Linked DNA regions of Homo sapiens: all the other regions are linked to region 1. Evidence: promoter capture Hi-C in 16 types of primary human blood cells and fetal thymus (Javierre and others, 2016). All regions are on one chromosome and are shown on one strand. The core of a region is centred on a gene start or on the middle of the fragment in contact, and the rest is flanking DNA. Distances in the headings are between cores, read along the strand shown. Region 1 holds the start of CFAP54 (cilia and flagella associated protein 54). Region 2 overlaps HAL (histidine ammonia-lyase). Region 3 overlaps LTA4H (leukotriene A4 hydrolase). Region 4 overlaps LTA4H (leukotriene A4 hydrolase). Region 5 holds the start of LOC124902990 (a long non-coding RNA gene). Region 6 has its middle 35 kb from the start of TRD-GTC2-8. Region 7 has its middle 54 kb from the start of LINC02452.

What was found. Contacts are between HindIII fragments. The CHiCAGO score rates a contact against its expected background, and 5 or more counts as called.
Region 2: a fragment that was not itself captured here is called in contact with the fragment with the promoter of CFAP54 in region 1 in 1 of 17 cell types (neutrophils); the score reaches 6.8 in neutrophils.
Region 3: a fragment that was not itself captured here is called in contact with the fragment with the promoter of CFAP54 in region 1 in 5 of 17 cell types (neutrophils, total CD4 T cells, monocytes and 2 more); the score reaches 9.5 in neutrophils.
Region 4: a fragment that was not itself captured here is called in contact with the fragment with the promoter of CFAP54 in region 1 in 16 of 17 cell types (fetal thymus, neutrophils, naive CD4 T cells and 13 more); the score reaches 15.7 in fetal thymus.
Region 5: a contact is called between a fragment that was not itself captured here and the fragment with the promoter of CFAP54 in region 1, in 15 of 17 cell types (activated CD4 T cells, total CD4 T cells, naive CD8 T cells and 12 more). The highest score is 23.5, in activated CD4 T cells.
Region 6: a fragment that was not itself captured here is called in contact with the fragment with the promoter of CFAP54 in region 1 in 17 of 17 cell types (naive CD8 T cells, non-activated CD4 T cells, naive CD4 T cells and 14 more); the score reaches 18.9 in naive CD8 T cells.
Region 7: a fragment that was not itself captured here is called in contact with the fragment with the promoter of CFAP54 in region 1 in 4 of 17 cell types (activated CD4 T cells, M2 macrophages, naive CD4 T cells and 1 more); the score reaches 7.3 in activated CD4 T cells.

The regions. Positions count from the first base shown.
Region 1 is chr12:96,487,858-96,491,029 of GRCh38, reverse strand. CFAP54 (cilia and flagella associated protein 54) reads right to left here and starts at 1,453. Exons shown (of 68, transcript NM_001306084.2): 1 at 1,104-1,453. The coding sequence starts at 1,420. RefSeq lists an enhancer at 1,205-1,414 and a silencer at 1,305-1,599. The HindIII fragment of the contact is 3,410 bases long and covers 1-2,008 here.
Region 2 is chr12:95,984,382-95,987,553 of GRCh38, reverse strand. It overlaps HAL (histidine ammonia-lyase), which reads left to right. Exons shown (of 21, transcript NM_002108.4): 12 at 340-487; 13 at 1,394-1,489; 14 at 1,588-1,646. Among named protein-coding and RNA genes, the nearest start is that of HAL, 10 kb to the left of the region's middle. RefSeq lists a cis regulatory region at 1,526 and an enhancer at 1,454-1,598. The HindIII fragment of the contact is 6,490 bases long and covers 1-3,172 here.
Region 3 is chr12:96,005,979-96,009,150 of GRCh38, reverse strand. LTA4H (leukotriene A4 hydrolase) reads left to right here. Exons shown (of 19, transcript NM_000895.3): 15 at 3-57; 16 at 2,742-2,837. All of the region lies in intron 3 of LOC102723340 (a long non-coding RNA gene), which reads right to left. Among named protein-coding and RNA genes, the nearest start is that of HAL, 11 kb to the right of the region's middle. The HindIII fragment of the contact is 1,397 bases long and covers 789-2,185 here.
Region 4 is chr12:96,025,164-96,028,335 of GRCh38, reverse strand. It overlaps LTA4H (leukotriene A4 hydrolase), which reads left to right. Exons shown (of 19, transcript NM_000895.3): 3 at 772-892. Among named protein-coding and RNA genes, the nearest start is that of LTA4H, 8.8 kb to the left of the region's middle. The HindIII fragment of the contact is 1,217 bases long and covers 1,102-2,318 here.
Region 5 is chr12:96,050,427-96,053,598 of GRCh38, reverse strand. It overlaps LOC124902990 (a long non-coding RNA gene), which reads right to left and starts at 951. Exons shown (of 2, transcript XR_007063413.1): 1 at 853-951; 2 at 46-255. The HindIII fragment of the contact is 8,479 bases long and covers 1-3,172 here.
Region 6 is chr12:96,069,147-96,072,318 of GRCh38, reverse strand. No RefSeq gene overlaps it. Among named protein-coding and RNA genes, the nearest start is that of TRD-GTC2-8, 35 kb to the right of the region's middle. RefSeq lists an enhancer at 562-1,062. The HindIII fragment of the contact is 5,233 bases long and covers 1-3,172 here.
Region 7 is chr12:96,117,316-96,120,487 of GRCh38, reverse strand. No RefSeq gene overlaps it. Among named protein-coding and RNA genes, the nearest start is that of LINC02452, 54 kb to the left of the region's middle. The HindIII fragment of the contact is 1,429 bases long and covers 1,208-2,636 here.

The sequences.
Region 1 (3,172 bases), core at 204-2,703:
CACTGCACAACAGCCTGTGCAAGAGTGAGACCCTGTCTCAAAAAAAAAAGATAAAATTGCAACATTCATCTCATATCCTCCAACACCATTCCCTGTTCTATTTTTCTCCCTAGCAGTCATCTCCTTGTAAGATTATTTACTTACATATTTGTTTAGTGGTTGTTTATACCCACAAAAACATATGCTCTATAAGGACATGGATTCTTATATGTTTTGTTAACTTGATGTTTTCCTAGTTCCTTGAACAGCACTTGATATACAGTATGTGCTCAATAAATAGTTGTTATATGCATAAATAAAAAATATTTTATTTTATTTATTTATTATTATTATTTTTTGAGAAGGAGTCTTGCTCTGTCGCCCAGGCTGGAGTGTAGTGGCGCGATCCCAGCTCACTGCAACCTCTGCCTCCCGGGTTCAAGCAATTCTCCTGCCTCAGCCTCCTGAGTAGCTGGGAGTACAGGCATGTGCCACCATGCCCAGCTAATTTTCGTATTTTGTATTCATGTATAAATTTTTGGCTCGCTCAAGGGTTTCACAACTTTCCATGTTATGAGTATATAAATTTGTATATGGAGAAAAAGGAATAACTTCGAGGTAGCTCAGGTTCATGAAGCTAGCTCTTGATACAATGAAGTATGTCATCCTGTGAACATGTGCACTTTAATTCCTTCTTATATTGCTATTAGGATTACAGTGACTTTTTCTTAATTTTGCTATTCATTCTGCGCAACTGTTTGCCTTTTTGGGAGTTCTATCACCATGTTATTACTGCAAACTGCGAACTCTTTTTAAGGTTCTTTCCTGCTTATGTTACCATCTTTCTTTTCTGGTCAAATAACAAATGGTGAGTTATGAAACATTTCTGTGTAGATTTTTATTTTGACCTGAGCAGGAAGCCAAGATATAACAGCTCCCAGGAATTAAGGATTGTTAAGAGCGACGAGTCTCCACTTCTTAAACTTTGTCTCTCCTGGGCCCTTCAGCCAGCCCCTGCGTCCGCAACGCTGAACCATCTCTGGGGCCACCACCTGCATCCTCCAGCCCTTTCCAGGGGTCCCTCCTCTGGCCGGCGCCCTCCCCAGTGCCCCGCCAGCGCTTACCAACGCCGGCGGAATTCGTGCTTCTCTTCCTCCGTGGTGGCTAAAGCCTTCTTTTTCCTCATAAAGCCTAACAACTCCTGGATCTCCTTCTCACAAGAGGCCAGGAGCGGGTTTTTCGCGTCCAGCGGCCCATAAAACACGGCTAGGGGCAATGAGTCCTCGGGGCAGGTCCACTGAAGCAGCGAGCTCCGGGAGCTCCCCTTCGACTCTGGGGGCGACCTCGAAGTCGCGGTGGAGGTCGGCGGCAGTTCTGGCAGAGACCCCGAGGTGGTAGAGTCGTCTGACGGAGAGCTCGAGGGGGAGCCCTGCGCCGCCATATTGACGCGCCCCGGCCCGCCTGGAGTATGTGTACACGCGGTTGCCTGGCGACGGTCTCGTGGCAACCGGGCATCCCGCGCGCATTCCGAGAAACACAGCGGCCCCTGGAGGGCAGAGCGAGAAAGAACCAGGTCCAGAAAACAATGATGCTCCTGAGGGCGTTGCCTGGTTGTGCGCTGGCACCGCTGTATGAAATGCGAACAGAGAATGTTCTGAGCAGAGCGCTGGCGAATATTAGAGCCAAAAATTTAAGGTCACAAATCCAGACTATACTCTTTATCCATGTTGGCCACTTAATAACGATAATGATGACGACCATGACCATTAACGTGTGTCAGGCATTAAGCATTTGAAACATGTACTTTCATTTATCTCATTTAATCATCATAACTACTTTACAACTTAGGATACTATTAGTATATCCATCTCACAGTTTAGGAAACCAAAGCTCAAGGAGGTTAAGTCATTTGACAAAAGTCAGCGTACAACCGTAGTGTCAGCGACCAGGTCCTCCAAAGGGAACTTGTGACTCCAAAGCCTGTGCTCAAAATGAATAGGCTGTATTGATCACTCCCCAAAACAAAGCTTATTAATCAAATTGAAATTAGAGAAATATCTGACAAGCAGTTTAAGAATCAAATACAGTTGGCCCTCCAAATCTCGGGTTCTTCATCTGTGGATTCAAGCAACTCCAGATTGTAAATATTCAGAACAAAATTAGAAATAACAATACAACAATAAAAATAACACAAAATACAACTATTTACATGGCATTTATACTGTATTAGGTATTACTAGTTATCTAGAGATGATTTAAAACATCCTGAAGGATGTGCACAAATTATATGCAAATACTACAGCATTTCATATCAGAGGCTTGAGCATCCACAGATTTTGGTATCTGCGGGTGTCATGGAACTAGTCCCCCACAGATAGCCAGGGAGTACTGAATATGCAGCTGATCCATTCTCTTTCCTCTATTTGTACCTTGAGGTCTGTAACTGTGGACATGATGTCTATGCCTCTAATAATTATGATTACATCTATTTATGCACATTCCAGCCTTACTTTAATTATCTCTGTATTCTAAATTAATGTGCATTTTGCTCAACCTTAACCATAGGACATTAATACATACTAGTGGCCTGAAGTGTTAACTCTCAAAATACTTTGCATTTTAAACAGGGCTTTTAGGAGACTTTACTTCTGATGGGGAAACTACAGACCTCCAGGGAAATACTTGGGGAGTTTATTCTTAGCCTGTGTATTATAGGCAAAAGTCAGAGTTAAATTTATTAAAGTATGAGTATTGAGAAAATGGAGAACCTTCTTTTCTATAAATTATGCAACACAATAAATTATCTAAGAGAAGAACCAGAAATATTTGGTGGCTTAGAAAAATCAGTCTTTAACCCTGAAAATTGTTACCAGTTCTATCACACTTAAATAAAGACAGTGACCCTAACACCCTGTGAACCCAATTTTCCATTTCAGACTAAGAAGCTTATTGGACCACAGCCTGATATCTTTCAAGTCTGACCTAATTTTATGCAGGCTCTGTGGGCCTGTGCTAATTTGTGAGGCTGGCCTAATATGTCATGTCTACTGTACCCTAATATTCTTTGAAGGAAAATAATTTTGCTCATCGGCACAGTTAATTATAGCCAGAGAAACTTCCTGGCAAGCAGTGAGACGCAATGACACCTCACTGTAGGAGTCCAATTCTCTAATCAGGATGTAGATATCATCCT
Region 2 (3,172 bases), core at 386-2,885, 500 kb after region 1:
ATCTATAACAGTAAGAATTTAAGGAAGAAATGCAACCTAATGCACTAAAGATTTTATGTGCAGTCTACACTCCAGAGCTGCATTGCTGCTTTGGGAATGTGGATACTTAATGAGTGTTTCATTTGCCAGATTTGTGCTTACGAGTTCACATATGATAGCACTTATTCTTCAAGGGCTTAAATAAACATTACTGTCCCGCACTTTAGAAAACATAAACATAATTTTTTATGTTTATGACTGGCTAATTTTTCTCTTATGAAAGCAAAAGATACAAAATCCACGGGTATGTAGGTTCGTTACAATAATCACAGTAGGAAACTTTGCTCTCTCCCCCGACAGGGCCTGGCACTCATCAATGGGACGCAGATGATCACATCCCTGGGCTGTGAAGCTGTAGAGCGAGCCAGTGCTATTGCACGGCAGGCTGACATTGTGGCAGCCCTGACCCTTGAGGTGCTGAAGGGCACCACCAAAGCCTTTGACACTGGTCAGCAGGGTTCTTCCTTTTGGTTGTTATTCATTCAACCAGAGGTGGTGGGGCGGGGTGGCTGAGATCTTTAGACACAGAAGTGGTGGGGGCAGGTAGTAGGGAAGGAGAAAACCCAAGTGCCTGTGGCGTACCCAGTGTGCTGCCTCTTCATCTAGGCTATGGCACAACTGATCTTTGAAAGAACTGCAATTTACAGATACACACAGCCCGGAAGTTGAGTGACTTGCCTGAGAGCACCCAGGGATCTGGGTGTGTCAAGCTCTGTGCTGTCTTAGGAATCTTTTTACAGGACTTAGGAGTCCTGTAAAAAGGAGTAGGATTAGAGTTGGTCCCGACTAGAAAATTGGGGAAGAAAAACTGTCGAATTGGTAGCTTATTTAGAAAGTAGTGAATTTTGACGACCTCCCAACTATAATATGAAAAAGGGCAGAACATTGTCTAAAAGTGAATGAGTTAAATTAGGCCACTGTAGGGCTCCCTCCTGTTATTCGCCCTGTTCCTTTAAGGTAGGCCCAGTGTCTTGAGTGGAATTCCCAGTGGTCTCAACATATAGTTTGCTCTCAGATATTTAAAGTAGAAGGAGTCAAGTCAATAAGGAAAATCGTGCTTTCGGAGTTAAGTTTCTAATTCTGAGTGGTGGCTAAGGACCCCTGGGACTTTTGAGGGCTGTGTCAGCACCGTAGATGGTCCTGAACCATTGATGGTCATTTGTTCTAATATCAGAATTACTCGACCTGGCATGGTGGCTCATGCCTGTAATCCCAGCACTTTGGGAGGCCAAGGTAGGAGGATCGCTAGAGCCCAGGAGTTTGAAACCAGCCTGGGGAACGTAGTGAGACCCCCATCTTTAAAAAAAATAAATAAATGGAATTATTCAGACTTTTTCTCCTTCATCAATTCTAGACATTCATGCTCTTCGACCTCACCGTGGGCAAATTGAAGTTGCTTTTCGGTTTCGGTCACTCTTGGACTCAGATCACCACCCATCAGAAATAGCAGGTCTGACCATGTTTATGGGAGTGACCTATTTGGTTACGTGTTTTGTGAAAAGAATTGGTAACATGATCCCTGTCTCATCCCCTCCACCTCTTCCACAGAGAGTCACAGGTTCTGTGATCGCGTCCAGGATGCATACACCTTGCGCTGCTGTCCACAGGTAAAATAAAGAAAAAAAAAAAGGTCAATAAAAAATGCCAATAAAGTTTTTCTTTCCCCAGGTTCAGGATGAAAAATTTTAAAATAGGAAAGTGTTAGAAAAACATGTAATGGTCAACTATAGTCCAAATTTCTTACTGTCTCTATGAAAAGTTATGTATATTTTACCTTTATGTGTGCAATTGTTGTAAAGTTTCTATTCTATATGGTGAACTATTTGTTTTCTTTTGATTGTTCAACCTACTTTCAGAGGACAACCTCTTTTTTTTTTTTTTTTTTTTTTTGAGACAGACAACCAACAAATAACCTCTTTGATTTGGAGACAGAGTCTCACTCTGTCACCCTGGCTGGAGTACAGTGGCATGATCTCTGTTCACTACAATCTTCACCTCCCAGGTTCAAGTGATTCTCCTGCCTCAACCTCCCGAGTAGATGGGATTACAGGCATGTGCCACCATGCCTAATTTTTGTATTTTTAGTAGAGATGGGGTCTCACCATGTTGGCCAAGCTGGTCTCGAACCCCTGACCTCAAATGATCCACCTGCCTCAGCCTCCCAAAGTGCTGGGATTACAGGCGTGAGGACCGTCCCCGGCCCAGACAACCTCTTATGTTGATTCAGTGCCCTAACTTTTAAAAATTCTTAGTAATAAAATCATAACCAGTTAGTAGAGTTGTACTGTTTCTCCCTGTTAAGATGAAACTTTAACCAGATAGTCAGAGGTGTTTACAGGAAAGTCTTAATTATATCATTTTGAAACTCAGGTGCATAGTAATGGTTATACCTTACTTGCATTTTATGGGCAATATAAATTATTTTAAATGAATTTGTGATGCTTAACTTTAAATTAAAAATGCAGATGACCTGGGTTGGCATTAGGCATCTGTATTACAGATGTGTAATTTACATATGACAGTTAGAGAGCCAGTCATCTCAATAAACCATATTTTGGTCTGTGCCAAATTTCAGTCTATGGTGTAATAGAGAGTCCTCCCTAGAATAAATACCCTCATTTCCCTTTAGTCAGCAAGTTATCTTTTCTAGCTAGCTTATTGAGCAATAGATCAAAACACCTATGGGTAAGAATTGCCAAATTAGATCTACAGGAAGATTAAGTCCTGATGTAAGACTTCCCTGATATTTTAATAACGATAGCAGATTCTATGTGACAGGCACCATTATCACTGTCTTTCATTTATTAATTCATTTAATCTTCCCAACTATAAGATACTCTTTCTCCCATTTTGCAATGGGGAAACTGAGGCACAGAATTAAGTATCTTGCCCACGATCACACAGACAGATAATTACTTCCTTGACTTCTGGGAGAAACCAGAGCCAGGTGCTGCTTTATAGCATTGTGGCTATTTCTGGGGTTTGTACAGCGTAGCTGCCTTATGTGTGAGCATCTTCTAATGTGATGCCTTCGTGCTTAATGAACTTTACCGCCTTGGATAATAGCTACCATTTGAGTAATCTCTGCGAGTCACATCTAAGAATTTGTTTGCATTATTTTATGTACTTCTCA
Region 3 (3,172 bases), core at 238-2,737, 480 kb after region 1:
AGTTATGATATGACTCTGACAAATGCTTGTATTGCCTTAAGTCAAAGATGGATTACTGTAAGTAATAATGTGTGATTTTTGATTCCTTTTTGAATTGTGCAAATATGTCTTTACTCATGAAGCAGGGAGGGTACTTTAAATCACAAACAGTTATATTTGGAAAGGCTATTTGAAAGTCAGGTTTATCTAAGGTGATATTATATCTACTCTCAATATAGAAAATTAAGGGTTTGAGACAGGGTCTTGCTCTGTTGCCCAGGCTGGACTACAGTGGCGTGATCATGGCTCATTGCAGCCTCAACCTCCTGGGCTCAGTCAGTTGTCCCACCTCAGCCTCCCGAGTAACTGGGACTACAGGCATGTGCCTCCATGCCTGGCTAATTTAAAACTTTTTATACAAACAGGGTCTGTGTTGTACAGGCTGGTCTCAAACTCCTGGTCTCCAGTGATCCTCCCACCTTAGCCTCCCAAAGTGCTGGAATTACAGGCATCAGGCATGAGCCACTGTGCCCAGCCTAGAAAATTAAGTTTTATGGGGGGAAAAATTGATGTTGAAGGCATTAATCCTGATTTTTCTTGCTTCTTAACTCTTAAAAAAAAAAAGTATGCAAAAATATTTGCATCTTACCTTTCTTCTTTTCCTTTTAAATCATTTATAAGATACTGCTTCCAATATGGCAATTTCACATACCAGGTAAATCTAAAATGATCTTGGGTGACCAGCTGCTGACTATTAGTGGTGCAAAGAATCGAAGCACTTTTGCTCTTTGTTCACTTTCTATGAAGCTTCTTAAAGAGGAGCTTCTTCATATATGTACTAAAATAGAACCCTTTACTGAAGCCAAAGTAAGGATGAGCCCTTGATAATTCTTTAATGAAAAATAACAGAAGATTTAGGAATACTTTTATTCCTATTAATTTGCAACAGATTTATCATTTTTTTACGTAATTTCAACTTTTAAGTTCAGGGGACACATGTGCAGGTTTGTTACACGTGCATATTGTGTGATGCTAAGGTTTGGGGTATGATTGATCCCATCACCCAGGTACTGAGCACAGTACCCAGTAGTTTTTCAACCCTTGCCCCACTCCTAGTAGTGCCCAGTATCTATTGTTGCCACTTTTATGTCCATGAATATACAGTCGTTTAGCTCTCACTTGTGAGAACATGCTGTATTTGGTTTTCTGTTCCTGTGTTAATTCACTTAGGATAATGGCCTCCAGCTGTGCAATCAGTTCAGCTATTGCCTTTTAAAACCTGTTTTGTGTAGTTGACAAACTTGTCATGAAGAAAAGTATAAGAGATTTCTATGGGAAACAGGATTTTTTAACAGTGTGAGTGTATTAAAATTCTCTGTTTTAGTTTGAAAAATGTATTCCAGCTTATTTGGTGCTAGTTAAAACTGCTACTAATTTCTGCTCAAATATTCCTTTGGGCCCAGCAGTTAAGGTGGATAATGATCAACTCTTCAATATTAGTAGAAACAGGCATTGTTAGGAACAGATTCAGGACACTGTATTCACTAATGCACTCTTTTCCTTATGTATTTTATTTCTCAATGATTTGTCTTAAATAGTAAATAAATGCAAAAGAATATTTATAACATATTCATATGGTGTATAAAACAATTGTGTGACCCACCACTAGCATAAGAAGTAAAATCTTAGCGGTACCTCTGTAGCATCCCTCCCCATCTTATGCCCCTCTCCACCCTCCTTGCTGACCCATCCAGGTTACCATTGTCCTGAATTTTGGTTTATCATTCTCTTGCTTTTTATGTTTTTACCACATAAATATATCCTTAATTAATATATAGTTTAGATTTGCAGGTTTTTGCACAGAAAATGAGCTGGAGCTGTAAGTTCTCATATTAAGGATAAGTTGTAAAGGGAAAAGAAGTATTGCTATTAAAGAGAGTTCTGAAGAGGGGGAAGATGCAAAATATTTATTTAAAAGGGTATATACCTATGCATTAAATTTAGTGGAAGGATATACAGAAACTACTAATATTAGTTACTGAGGAGTAGTACTTGGAGACAGGGAGCAGATCCAAAAGAATTTTTCCTTCTGTCCTATTTGATTTTTTAGTATTTGCATATATTTCTTTTAAAGTAACAAAAGCCCTAGTTTAAAAGATTATAAAAGTAGTTCTAAAAGATTTAAAAATCCTTATTTTTATAAGCTTTATTTAATATTGCTTAATCATCTTCTCAAAGATTTTTGAGAGTAAATCCAAATTTGAAAAGTGCAGACTCATTTTTATTTTTCTTAGATGGTTTCTAAGATTAAGTGGGGAAAACAGAATATGTGGGGATGGAGGAAAACATTAGTTTATGGCCTTACCAATTTATTAATGTAATATTTAAAAATATACGATTTCATTCTTTACCTTTTTGAATTGGTCTATAGATTAGTTGACATGCATACATTTTGAAATGTTTCTTTGCTTTGGAAATTTCTATACCTCGAATGGTACAATGAATGTCAACAGTTTCTTCCACTCTTCCTACCCATAATCTACTTTTTCTTAAGTAATATAGATTCTAGGAGTCATATCAGCTATTTAAATTACAGTAACTCAATCTCAGGATTATTTAAGTAACTCAGGCTTAAATTTATTTTGAATAATCTTGTTCATTCATATGGTTCTTTTTCTCAATTTTTACTTTTATGTCAGATAAACCAATAAGTATTATTAAATTGTACTTGAACAAAAATAACTAGGTAACATTTATTTCAGGCCAAAGAAGATGATTTAAATTCATTCAATGCCACAGACCTGAAGGATCTCTCTTCTCATCAATTGAATGAGTTTTTAGCACAGACGCTCCAGAGGGTAAGTACTAGCTCAAAATCTTAGAAATTAAAATGGACAGAAAGGCACAGCATTTATGTTCTACCCAACTTGGCAAAAGATTATTAATGTGGAAACTAATGGGGAAAAAATCATTTATAAAATTTATTCATTTCTTTAAAAAAGCATTGAATGCTTACTGTGTTTTATATTGTGCTAAATATGAAAATATGTAAGAAAGGATATACCTTATCTTCAAATAGCGTATAATCTAGTAGGAAGGGGAACACATGCAAAATTTAGCAATAAGCCAGGCACGGTGGCTCACATCTGTAATCCCAGCACTTTGGGAGGCCGAGGCAAGCAGATCACTTGAA
Region 4 (3,172 bases), core at 461-2,960, 460 kb after region 1:
GTATTCACCCCATTCTACAAGGAAACTGTGGCATAGGGAGGTCAAATAATTTCCCCAAGTTTACAGTACCAGTAAGTGATAGAGTCAGGATTCGAACACCAGCAGGGCTGCTGGTCTCTAAACCTCTGCTGTTTCCTTATTATCAGTGCTTCTCAAACTCTCTGGGGTAAAGGACCAATTTCTATCCTCTTCAATCTGTCATAGACTGATACTTTTGTACAATGCAATAAAAATGAAATATGAGGAAGAAGAGATGAAATACAAGCACACATTTTTTATTATTAGATTCAACAGACAAAAATGACTCTAAAAGTTTTGCAATGCTGACTCTCAACTTCTGGTCTTGTCTTGTCCTGGGCCGGTAACAGTTTGCAGACTAGCACTGCTCTGTGTCATGCTGTGGCACCTGCTGCTGTGGTAGTTGAAGCCCCAAAAATGATTTCTTTTACTTTTTCACTCTAATAAAATATTAAATGATATCACAGATGCAAAGTACGTGACACACAACGGGGTAGTCAACCACTGTTAGTTGCCATTAAGCCTTCGCTAGCAGTTAGCATGGGAGAGGTAAAAGGACCCACAGGCTGGCAATTAGGTAGGAAAACTGAGAGGAGACTTACCCACTGAGGATGTGGCATACCTAGAGCTTACTGCCAATCAGTGATGAGAATGCATACTATGTTATTTATATTATTCAGTGTATGTATTATGAGTTTAAATTTTCACTAGATGGAATCATACTCTACTAATATATTTATGTGTTTCATACAGAAATCAAGAAATTGTTATAGAAATTTCTTTTGAGACCTCTCCAAAATCTTCTGCTCTCCAGTGGCTCACTCCTGAACAGACTTCTGGGAAGGAACACCCATATCTCTTTAGTCAGTGCCAGGTAAAAAGGATTCCAGAATGATTTCTGATGCAGAAAATTTCAGCACCTATGGTTGAATGAAGCAAAATGAACAGTGGTTTTATGGATTATGTAGGTTTTACCTAATAAAATGTATTAATTGATCTTATAGAAACATATAAGATGAATTATATATTTTCATTTTATCTTTCACTATTAATACACTCATGCCTTACTTTAAATAAGAAGCTTCTTTCAGTTTGGAAATATGTCCACCTAGATTGGACTCTCTAGGCCTGACTTAGAACTTAGCAGAGAGTAGGTACTCAGTAAATAGTCATAAAATGAAAGGAAAAATTAATAAATAATATGTACTGGTTATGAAAAATGCTAATAGTAAAGAAATGGAAAGTGAAAGATTTAATTTCCAAACCTTTTCCAGACACCATTGCCCAGAGGTAACCACCATTGAGTTTGGAATGTAGCTTTTCCATATTTTTCTTACACATTTACAAAAGTATGTATTATATCAATATATTAACTGTACCTTTAAAATTGCATGACTTAAACTACTTTTGTTTTCTGTTTTAAAACTAAGGGTAAAGAGCCATACAATTAGAGATAACCTGTCACAAGGATAATACATTTCAAACTGTCTTCTGAAAGAAAAAATACCTACTTTTCATAGTAATCAAATAATTTACAATTAAGGGAACTGACTTCATTAAACGTTTGCTCTATTTCCAGGCATTGTGCTAGATTCTTTACATGTTTCATCCCTCCCAATATTCCTGTGTGTTAGGTTCAAATTTCAATACAAGTCCATTTAAAAAAGGAATTAGCATATGAATCAGACCTGTTTACTTTCTATGGCCACTTGAAACATCTTTTTAATCTAAGAAACCCTCAGTTTAATAATCTAGAAGAGATGAAATGTTCTACGCAAGAGTGTACAAATTGCACAATCTGTATCTCATAAATATCTGATTTTCAGGCAGTATGTCTTAATAGAATGTCTATTAACCAAAGTTGGCAAGAAATGCAAGATTTATGAGTCATGAAAATGTTAATTTTGAATATATTATTCCATTTCTTATTGGCAGCAATGGTGGGAATATGGGAAACAGATTTCAGCTAAATTAATAAATGATTGAGGTGATAGGAATCATGTAGACATGATTTTGTTTGATGAATTTGCTTACGGTTGTTCTGTATGCATATTTGCCTGGGTTTGGCCTTATCCAATGAAATACATTTAAAAACCCCTTTGGTGTTGCCATGTCACCTAACTAGAAACCATTAAGGAACTATAGAGGCATGGTCTTGGAAATCTATTTTGGGAGAGAGAACCAGGTGGCTCTGCTAGTCCTACTTAATCCATCTAGAGGTCATTTGGGAGCCTATATCTTTGGAGAATTTTCTAGAACTGAAATGAAAAGACCTGGAGTTTGGGGGTTTTAAGAAAGCTTGTGGTGGAATGAAGTATGTTTAGGATTTGTAATAGCTTCAGAGAAGGGTGTTAATATCAGAATTCCTTTGAGTTTAGTAGACTGTCTCAATGAGGCTGGGTTTTCATTTCATTGTTCACCAGCAGTAGACAGACTTATTTGTAAACAGACCGGGTATAAGATTGTAGGTGCTCTTTTTTTTTTTTTTTTGGAGACAGGGTCTTGCTGTGTTGCCCAGGCTGTAGTGCAATGGTGCGAACTTGGGTCACTGCAGCCTAGAACTCCTGGGCTCAAGCGATCCTTTTACCTCAGCCTCCTGAGTAGCTGGGACTACAGGTGTGCACCACCATGCCCAGCTAATTTTTTTTGTGTAGAGGTAAGGTCTCACTATGTTGCCCAGGCTGGTCTCAAATTCTAGAGCTCAAGCAATCCTCTCATCTGAGCCTCCCAAAGTGCTGGGATTGCAGGAGTGAGCCACGGCACCTGGCCTGTGGTCATACTGGATGGAACCAATGTTAATAACGATTGGTGTGGCAGTACAGAAACACTTTGCATATGATATGAATGAATATGTCTAGATGGTATTGAAAGAGACTGTTCTTTCTCCCTTCTTTGCTTCTTTGTTTTACTTACAAGGTTTGCTGCAAGATTGAAGTGTCAGGATTACAGCAACATTTCTCAGGCTGTGTTCATTAGAATACTGACATCCCATTAGGTGTTAAACCAGAGAGAAATGGGTTTTGTGTTAACATAAATGTAAGAAATCAAACAGGTTTCTTTATTGTAGGTCTGTTCAGAGCCTTCAGGCGGCTAATATTCTAGTGGCTCTGCAAGACAGTGGTGCAGTATGCCATACTTCTCAGGTCTGTTTTGC
Region 5 (3,172 bases), core at 478-2,977, 440 kb after region 1:
GTCTTAGTCCATTCAGGCTGCTATAACAAAATACCATAGACTGGGTAGCTTATGCACAACAGAAATTTATTTCTCACAATTTTGGAGGCTGAGAAGTCCTTGATAAAGATGCCAGCAGATGTGATGTCTGGTGAGGGCCCATTTTCTGGTTCATAGATGGTGCCTTCTTCCTGTGTCTTCACATGGTGGAAGGGCATACAAGCTCTCTGAAGTCCCTTTTGTAAGAGCACAAATTCCATTCACCAAAGGCCCCATCTGCCAATACCATCAACTTGGGGGTTAGGATTTCAACATATAAATTTTGGGGGTGACACAAACATTTAGACCATAACAAAAGATGAGTTTTTTTCTGAATTTGCTTTTTGTTCCTAACTTTGCTTATAACTGTCAACCTCATAAGAAGTATTTTCCCTCTCAAATACCCATCCAAACTTTACACATTCATTCATTAGAGGTTTCCAAAGTAGTATGGACATAGGCGTATGGACATAGGCACATGGCAATTATTTGGATGCAGGCAGAAACTATTAAATCTTTAAGATTATTTATGTAACTGGCTTCACAAACATAATTTGTAACATACAATTATAAACAACTATATTTTATTCTTCTACTGTCCCTTTAATTTTTCTCAGTGAACTGGTATTTCCTCTGCCTCTGGATAAACCTTGTGCAGGCTCGTGATTTTTCTGGATCCTCAGATAATTACAAGTTCTATGATCATGTTTCATATATTGCAGCCTTAATTTAGAAGTTAGAATGTAAGCATAAGTGAGTGCCTGGGTCAGCTAAGGCTGCCAAAACAAAATATTATAGACTGGGTGGCTTAAACAACAGATATTCATTTCTTACAATTCTGGAGGCTGACAAGTTCAAGTTCAGACTGTGAGCAGATTCAGTGTTTGCCATGGCCCCTTTTCCTGGCTTGCAGATGGCCACCTTCTTGCTGTATCTTCACATGGCAGAGAGAGGAAGCTCTAGTCTCTCTTCTTCTTATAAGGGCACTGATTCCATCACAAGGGATCTACCCTCATGACCTCATCCAAACCTAATTACCTCCCAAAGACCTCACCTCGTAATACCCTCACATTGGGGGTTAGGGCTTCAATATATGAATTTGGGGGAGACTTAAACGTTTAGTTCATAATATTCTGCCCTTTGTCCCTCTCAAAATTCACATCCTCCTTGCATTTAAAATACATTCATTCCATCTTAACAGTCTCAAAAGTCAACTCATTCCAGCATCAACTCTAAAGTTTAAAGTCTCATCTAAATATCATGTAAATCCAATATGAGTGAGACTCAAAATTCACCCTAAGGCAAAATTCCTTTCCAACTGTGAATCTGTGAAACCAGACAAGTTATGTGCTTCCGAAATACAATGATGGAACAGGCTCAGGATAGATATTCCTATTCCAAAAGGGAGAAATTGAAAGGTAGAAAGGGGTGACAAGTACCAAGAAATCCAAAATCTAGAAGTCAAACTTCATTAGGCTTTAAAACTGAAATACAATCCTCTTTGGCTCAAAGAATGCTCTGCCCTGTAGGCCCACTGGGGTGGTGGTCCTCCCTTCCAGAACCACTGGAAGGTATCACCCCCATCTTTCAGTGGGGTGTCCCTGCTTCTTCAGCTCAGTGTAGCACTGCCCACATGGCTGTCTGTGAGGGCCACACCCACATGAGTGCTGAGTAGCAGTCCCACTCTTTGAAACCAAGATGGAGGTAGCCTTGTTCCCAGGGGCCTTTCCACTCTGGGCCTGTGGTGGGAGTAGCAGCCCTGATGATGTCTGAATTGCCTTTGGGATCCTTCCTCTCTTTTCCTGAAGGGGATTGCATATTCACAGCCTTACTTCATTCCATCTTGTTTTCTCTTTTCCTTTTAGTCCCAACTGGCAGGGGACTAAAGCATTATTTCTCCTGGAATAATCCCAACTCTATTTCTGGCTTCTGTTGAGATGGCTGATTAGGTCCATGGTTGATACTCACACTACTCTCCTTATCAAATGGGTGACCAGCCACACTCTTAATAATCTCTTCTTTTCTTTTCTTTTTTTATTTTTTAAAATAGAGATGGGGTCTCACCATGTTGCCCAGGCTGGTCTTGAACTCCTGAGCTCAAGTAATCTGCCTGCTTTGGCATCCCAAAGTGCTGGGATTATAGGCAGGAGCCACCATGCTTGGCCTAACTCTTCTGAACATGGTTTCTCATTTTTTTTGCAGTAAGGACAGGCTAAGAATTTTCCAAATCTTTAAGTGCTGGTTATTTTTTGATTAACAATTTCTTCTTCAATTCATTTCTCTCTTCTTAAATTTTACTATCAGTGGTCAAGAGGAACCAAGCTGCTCTTTCAGCACTCTGCTTAGAAATGGCCTCAGCCAACTATCCAATTTCATTGTTTGAAAGTTCTACCGTCCACAAAACACTAGAACATAAACAATTCAGTAAGTTATTTGCCACTTTATAAAAAGGATTTTCTCCATTGTCCAATAACATGTTCCTCATTTCCATCTGAGGCCTCACAGAATAGCCTTTGCCACCTATATTTCTGCTAGCATTCTGTTCACGATTGTTTACGCATCCTCAAAGAAGGAAGACAGAAGCTCTTTTTGAGTCCTCACCAGAATCATCTTTAGCAATTTTTTCACAGCAACCTTGGCTTTTTGTAGCATGTATCTCAAAACTCTTTTAGCCTTCACCCATCACCCTGCATCATTACTGCTTCCACATTTTTAGAATTTATTTTAATTTAAAAAATGTATATAATGTAATTCAGAAGATCCAAAGATATCCCTTATGCACCATATGGATGCCAATTTCACTACGCAAATTTCACCATGCAAATTCTTCCTCCCTCTGAAATACTTTGGTCTTTATTAGTAGTAGTATTATTTTAATTTGAGATTCAGGAGGTACATGTACAGGTTTGTTACATGAATATATTGCCTAATGCTGAGGTTTGGGCTTCTGCTGAACTGTCACCCAAATGGTGAACATGAACATAGTACCCAATAGGTAGTTTTTCAACTCTCTTTCCTCCCTCCTTCCCTTTCCCCTTTTGGAGTCCCCTGTGTCTATTGTTTCTATCTTTATGCCTGTGTGTACCCTGTGTTTATCTCCCTCCCACTTATAAGTGAAAACATGCAGTATTTAATTTTGTTTCTGTGTTAATTC
Region 6 (3,172 bases), core at 447-2,946, 420 kb after region 1:
AATGTAACTCAGTGCAATTTGATTTTATATCCTTAAAAGATTTCTTTCATATGAACAAATCCACAAGGTAAAAAAAAAAAAAGTTTTGGCCGGATGCAGTGGCTCATTCCCGTAATCCCAGAACTTTAGGAGGCTGAGGTGGGAGGATCACGAGGTCAGGAGATCAAGACCAGCCTGGCCAACATGGTAAAACCCGACTCTACTAAAAATACAAAAATTAGCAGGACGTGGTAGTGTGTGCCTGTAATCCCAGCTACTCGGGAGGCTGAGGCAGGAGAATCTCTTGAACCAGAGAGTTGGAGGTTGCAGTGAGCCGAGATTGCGCCACTGCACTCCAGCCTGGCGACAGAGCAAGACTCTGTCAAAAAAAAAAAAAAAAAAAAACCCTCCACTTTTTTTTATTTTTAATTTTTATTTATTTAATTAATTTTTTTGTATCATTATTTTTTTTGTGATGGAGTCTTGCTCTGTCGCCAGGCTGGAGTGCAGTGGTGCGATCTCGGCTCATTTCAACCTCTAACTCCCTGGTTCAAGAGATTCTCCTGCCTCAGCCTCCCAAGTAGCTGGGATTACAGGCACACGCCACTACGTCAGGCTAATTTTTGTATTTTTAGTAGAGACAGGGTTTCACCATGTTAGTCAGGATGGTCTCAACCTCCTGACCTCGTGATCCGCCCGCCTCGGCCTCCCACAGTGCTGGGGTTACACACGTGAGCCACCGTGCCTGGCCTAAAAAAAAGTTTTTATTGTGTCCTCAGTGGGGATCAGAAAATATAGTTACTGTGTTTTTCCTTCTGCATTCTGTCTGAAATTATGTCTTATTTTTAAATTTATTATTGAATGCCGCATACTGTCATTTTGTTTCCTATCTTGGATCAGGTTGTAGGTACTGTGTGTGAGTGTGCATTTGTGTGTGTGTGTGTGTGTGTGTGAGCGAGAGAGAGAATGTTGAATTGAGGTCTTTCAAGGAAGGGTTAAAGAGCCATGTGCGAATGAGCTTCTGTTCCACGGCAGGCATTTAGAATCACGGTGCTTAGAAGACGTGGTATAATGATAGGCTGCTGGTGATGATATTGCTTCCCTGGGACGCTTCAGGAAGGGTGAGGAGACTAATTGGCTGGTCTGGCAAACAATTCAAGATGAGACCAAAAGGAGGAGCCATCTGCTGGCAGGAAGTAAATGGAAATTCACCTTAGCGCTGGCCCTTCCACAGTGGGTGCACAGATGGTGACAGGCGGAACCCTTAGGGAGAGAGCGAAGGCCCTCATCTGCCAAGAGAGGAACAAAGGGGATTTGCTATTGCCTCCAGTGAACAGCCTCTTCTTTCATTTTGAGATCATGTAAGGAGTTTGCCCACATCACAAACCTGTTAGTATGAGCTTGGTGGCCTTGGGGAGTTTCCAGGCAGTATTACTGTGTAGAACTAAGAGTGAGGCTTTAGAGGAAGCAATGGAGATGGAAGTAATTGGTTTAAGATCCTGGACATGGGCACCCTCTAATCTGGGATGACCTCATGTGGCTGTGCAGCACAGAACAGCAACGGGGCTCCATTGACATGCAAAAGGCATTTCCTCGACACTCCCCCTCCCAGCCCTGCTGCAGGTCCCAGTCTGCACAGTGCTTCAGGGCAGACCTCCTCCTGACTGCTTGTAAGTTGAACCTTCGATTCAACTTTATTCCACCTGCTCAATGTAGTCCTTCGAGTTTCCAAGCAGGAAGCATTGCAAGGGCGAGTAGCTGCTGCAATAAGCCCTCATTTCTGCAAAGGAGTGGTAGTGTATGTTTTCCCAATATACCCACCTCAGATATAGTAATTTCTAAACATATCAGTGGAAACAGAATAAAACCTCTTAGATGCAAATTATCTTGGTTGCAAGGGTAAGGAGTAGGGGGGAAACCAATATGAGTTAATAAAAGAACTGAACATACTTAAAATAACATGAAATTTTTTCCCTCTAATTCCATGAGAGGTTAGACATGTAATTTCTTTACACTTGAATACATTGAGAGAATCAGTTAGGATAGCACTTTTTAAAATTTTTAATTTTCTGTCTGAAAGCCATCACTGTAAGGACTATTACTGAAAATTTAAAGGCCAAATATTTAAACGATATGAAAAATATACCATCTTGCTTAACAAGAAGTCCTGAGACAGGACAGATGCAAAGTTCGTCAACTCAATGGCTTAACAAGGTTAAGAAAGATTTGGGCTGTTTACAACCTTCCTATTCCGTTCTCACTTAGCAGGGCAGTTTTGAACCACCAGGTACCTCCCCTCATGGTCACAAGATAGCAGCCATGGTTCCAGCCATCTCACACAAATCCTACAACATCCTTTAGATGAATATTCCCTCCGTGTGTGTGTGTGTGTGTGTGTGTGTATGTGTGTGTGTGATCACAGAGGAAAAAACCTTCCCCAGGAGTACCTCATATACATACAGCTTAAACTGCTAAAACAAAAAAACTAAAAAATACGATGGTTCAAAGAAGAAAGCAATTTATTTTCTTTTCATGTATCAGTCCCAATGTATGTAAGTCTTTCTGTCTTGCTCTGCCATTCTCTGGAGTCATGTGCTTGCTTGAAGCTGGATTAGCAGTACCACCCAGTGTGCAGAAAGGGATTAAGAGAGAAAGTAAAGAACAAGCATTCTCCTTCTTAAAAACATGGTCTAGAAATTAGACTCATTATTTTTTTCTCACATCCCATTAGCCAAAACTTGGCCACACCTTGCAACGATGGAGGCTGGGAATTATAGTCTGTAATTGGGCATGCGCCTAGCTAACACTGAATGTAACTTCTGCTGAAAAGAAAGGTAAAGTGAATGTAGGGAGAAATTAACATTCTCTGCCATACTCCTCTTGTCAATTTCTGCTCACGTCTCATTGGTCAGAATTACTTAACATCATGGGATCTAAACCACTAACAGCTAGGGAATGAGACCACCAGGACTGGTTTAGGTCAGGGTTCTCAACCTCAGCACCATTGACATTTTGGACTGGATGGTTCTCTTTGTTGTGGGGGCTGTCCTGTGCATTGAAGAATGTTTAGCCGCACCCCTGCCCTCTACCCGCTAGATGCCAGTAGCACAATATGCTTACCTCTGTGGCAACAAAAACTGCAAAATATTGCCGAATTACCTCCAGTTGAAAATCACTACCTTACATCAACCAC
Region 7 (3,172 bases), core at 673-3,172, 370 kb after region 1:
ATTTACCCAACACTCCTCAACCCCAAGCCCTAGGCTACCACTAATCTATTTTCTATCTTTATAGATTTGCTTATTCGTATATTCCTTCTAAATGCAATACCATATACAGGCTTTTGTGCCTGGCTTCTCTTACTTAGCATAGTATTTCTGAGGCTCATTCATATTGTAGCATATATCCGAATTTTATTCATTTGGCTGAATGATATTCCATTGTATTGGTATTCCACACTTTATTTATCCATTTATCAATTGATGGACATTTGGATTTTTTCCATGTTTTGGCTATTATGAATGATGTTGCGTGAACACTTGTGTGTAAGTTTTTGTGTAGACATGTCTTCAATTCTCTTAGGTAAACACCTAGGATAAGAACTGCTGGATCCTGTGATAACTCTATGGTTAACATTTTGAGGACAGACAGACTCTTTTCCAGGGTGGTTAAACCATTTTATATTCCCACTAGCAATACAGAGTATCAGGGTTCCAACTTCTCTACACCCTCATCAACAATTATTATTTGTCTTTTTAAAAATAGTCATTCTAGCGGGTGTGAAATGGTATCTCCTTGTGGTTTTTATTTGAATTTCCCTCGTTATACATCTTTTGTTGTGCTTATTGGACATTTTGTGTATCTTTCTCGAAATATTTGTTCAGATCCTTAATCCATTTTTTTTCTTCTTTTTTTTGAGACAGAGTCTTGCTCTGTTGCCAGGCTAGAGTGCAGCAGCACGATCTTGGCTCACTGCAACCTCTGCTTCCCGGGTTCAAGTGGTTCTCCTGCCTCAGCCTCCCAAGTAGCTGAGACTACAGCTGCCCACTACCACGCCCAGTTAATTTTTGTATTTTAAGTAGAGGTGGGGTTTCACCATGTTGGCCAAGCTGGTCTTGAACTCTTGACCTCAAGTGATCCACCTGGCTCGGCCTCCCAAAGTGCATGGATTACAGGCATGAGCCACCGCGCCTGGCCTATTGACCCATTTTTAAATCGGGTTGTTTTCTTTTTGTCGTTGAGTCATGAGTTCTTTATATATCGTGGAGAGTAGACCCTTATCGGACATATGATTTGCAAGTATTTTCTCCCATTCTGTGGGTTGTCCTTTCACTTTTGATGGTGTCCACTGACGCAAACATTTCTAATTTTTATTAAGTCCAATTATCCATTTTTTCTTCTGTTGTGTATGTTTTTGATGTCATACCTAAGAAAGCTTTGCTTAACCCAACGTTATGGAAACTTACTCCTATATTTTCTTCTAAGAATTTTATAATTTTGGTTTTCACATGGAGGTCTATGATTTGTTTTGAGTTAATGTGTGAATATGATATGAGATAAGGGTCCAACTTCATTCTTTCACATGTGGATATCCAATTGTCCCAGATCCTTTTGTGAAGGACTATTCTTTCCCCCATTGAACTGTCTTGGCATTCTTAGCCACATCACTTTCTATTCCCCCATTTAAACAATGTAATAGATTATATTAGAATAGACAACATCAAAGTATAGTTAACCATGGACTCTAAAGCCAGACCTGCTGTACTGAACCTCCACAGTGTGACCACTTACTAGCTATGTGGCCTTTGGCAAATCACTTCTCTGTGCCTCAGTTTTTACACCTGAATAATGTGTTCTTCATAGAGCTATTGTAAATATTAAGTGGGTTAAAAAAATTAAATGGGTTGGTATATGTAAAGCACTTAAGCTCAGGTGTGGTGGCTCATGCCTGTAATCCCAGCACTTTGGAAGGCTGAGGCAGGGGGATCACTTAAGCTCAGGAGTTCAAAACCAGCCTGGACAACATGGCAAAACCCCATCTCTATAAAAAACACAAAAATTAGCCAGCCATGGTAGTATGCACCGGTAGTCTCAACTACTCAGGAGGCTGAGGTGGGAGGATTGCTTGAGCCCTGGAGGTGGAGGTTGCAGTGAGCCGAGATCATGCCATGACACTCCAGCCTGAGCGACAGAGCCAAATCCTGTCTCACAAATAAGTAAAGCTAAAAAGCACTTAAAACAATGCCTGGCAGGTGATAAACACCTTGTAAGTATTTTGCTATACAATTTCTACAAAAAGTTTTTGCTCAGTTTCTGCCATTGTGAAGAAAATAATGTTTATGAATCTGAATCACAAGGCATGATTTGTTTCTTATTGACCACGTTTGTAACAGTAGATTGCTAAAATAATGCCACATAACAATCAAAAATCTTAGTGGCACACAGCATGAGGCATTTACTTTTTTTTTTTTTTTTTTTTTTTTTGAGACGGAGTCTTGCTTTGTCACTAGGCTGGAGTGCAGTGGCGCGATCTCAGCTCACTGCAACCTCTGCCACCCAGGTTCAAGTGATTCTCCTGCCTCAGCCTCCTGAGTAGCTGAGACTACAGCTGCGAGCCACCATGCCCAGCTAATTTTTGTATTTTTAGTAGAGATGGGGTTTCACCATGTTGGCCAGATGGTCTCCAACTCTTGACCTCGTGATCCGCCTGCCTCGGCCTCCCAAAGTGTGAAGCATTTATTTCCCATGAGTTTGGGGGTGGCTGGGCAGCTCCACTGATCTCATCTGGGCTCACTCACTCCTCTGTGGATCAGCTGATAATCAGCTAATCTAGGCTGGGCTTGGCTGAGCAGGTCTGCTTCAAGCTTCAGGTCTTGCCAAGCTTGGCTCCCCATCACTGGACTTGGTTCTGCTCCACATGTCTTCTATTTGGGCCTAGTCTAAGGGGTAGCAGCTTCCTGGGGGAAGCTCTTATCATGATGTTAAAGGCACAAAAGGGCAAACTTAATCCTCTAAGCACGTTTGAAGTCTCTGCTTGTCTCCTGTCTGCTAACATCCTATTGGCTGAATGACAAGGTCAGAGAAGTTCACTCCCACAGTCTCATTGATCAAAGCCAGTCACACGACTGAGCCCAACATCAGTTAGATACAAAACAACGATCTGTTGAGCAATAATCTAATATATTCCTAGTCAAAAGAGTTTGAGAAGCATTGCTCTAAAGCAGCAGTCAGCAAACTAGTGCCTGCAGGGCAAATTGAACCCACCACTTTTTTTTTTTTTATATATAAAGTTTTACTGAAACCCAGCCTGGCCCGTTTATTTATGTATGGCTGCTTTTGTGATACAATAGCAGGATTGAGTAGTTGCAATAGAGACCTCATGACCTGCAAAGCCTAAAATAT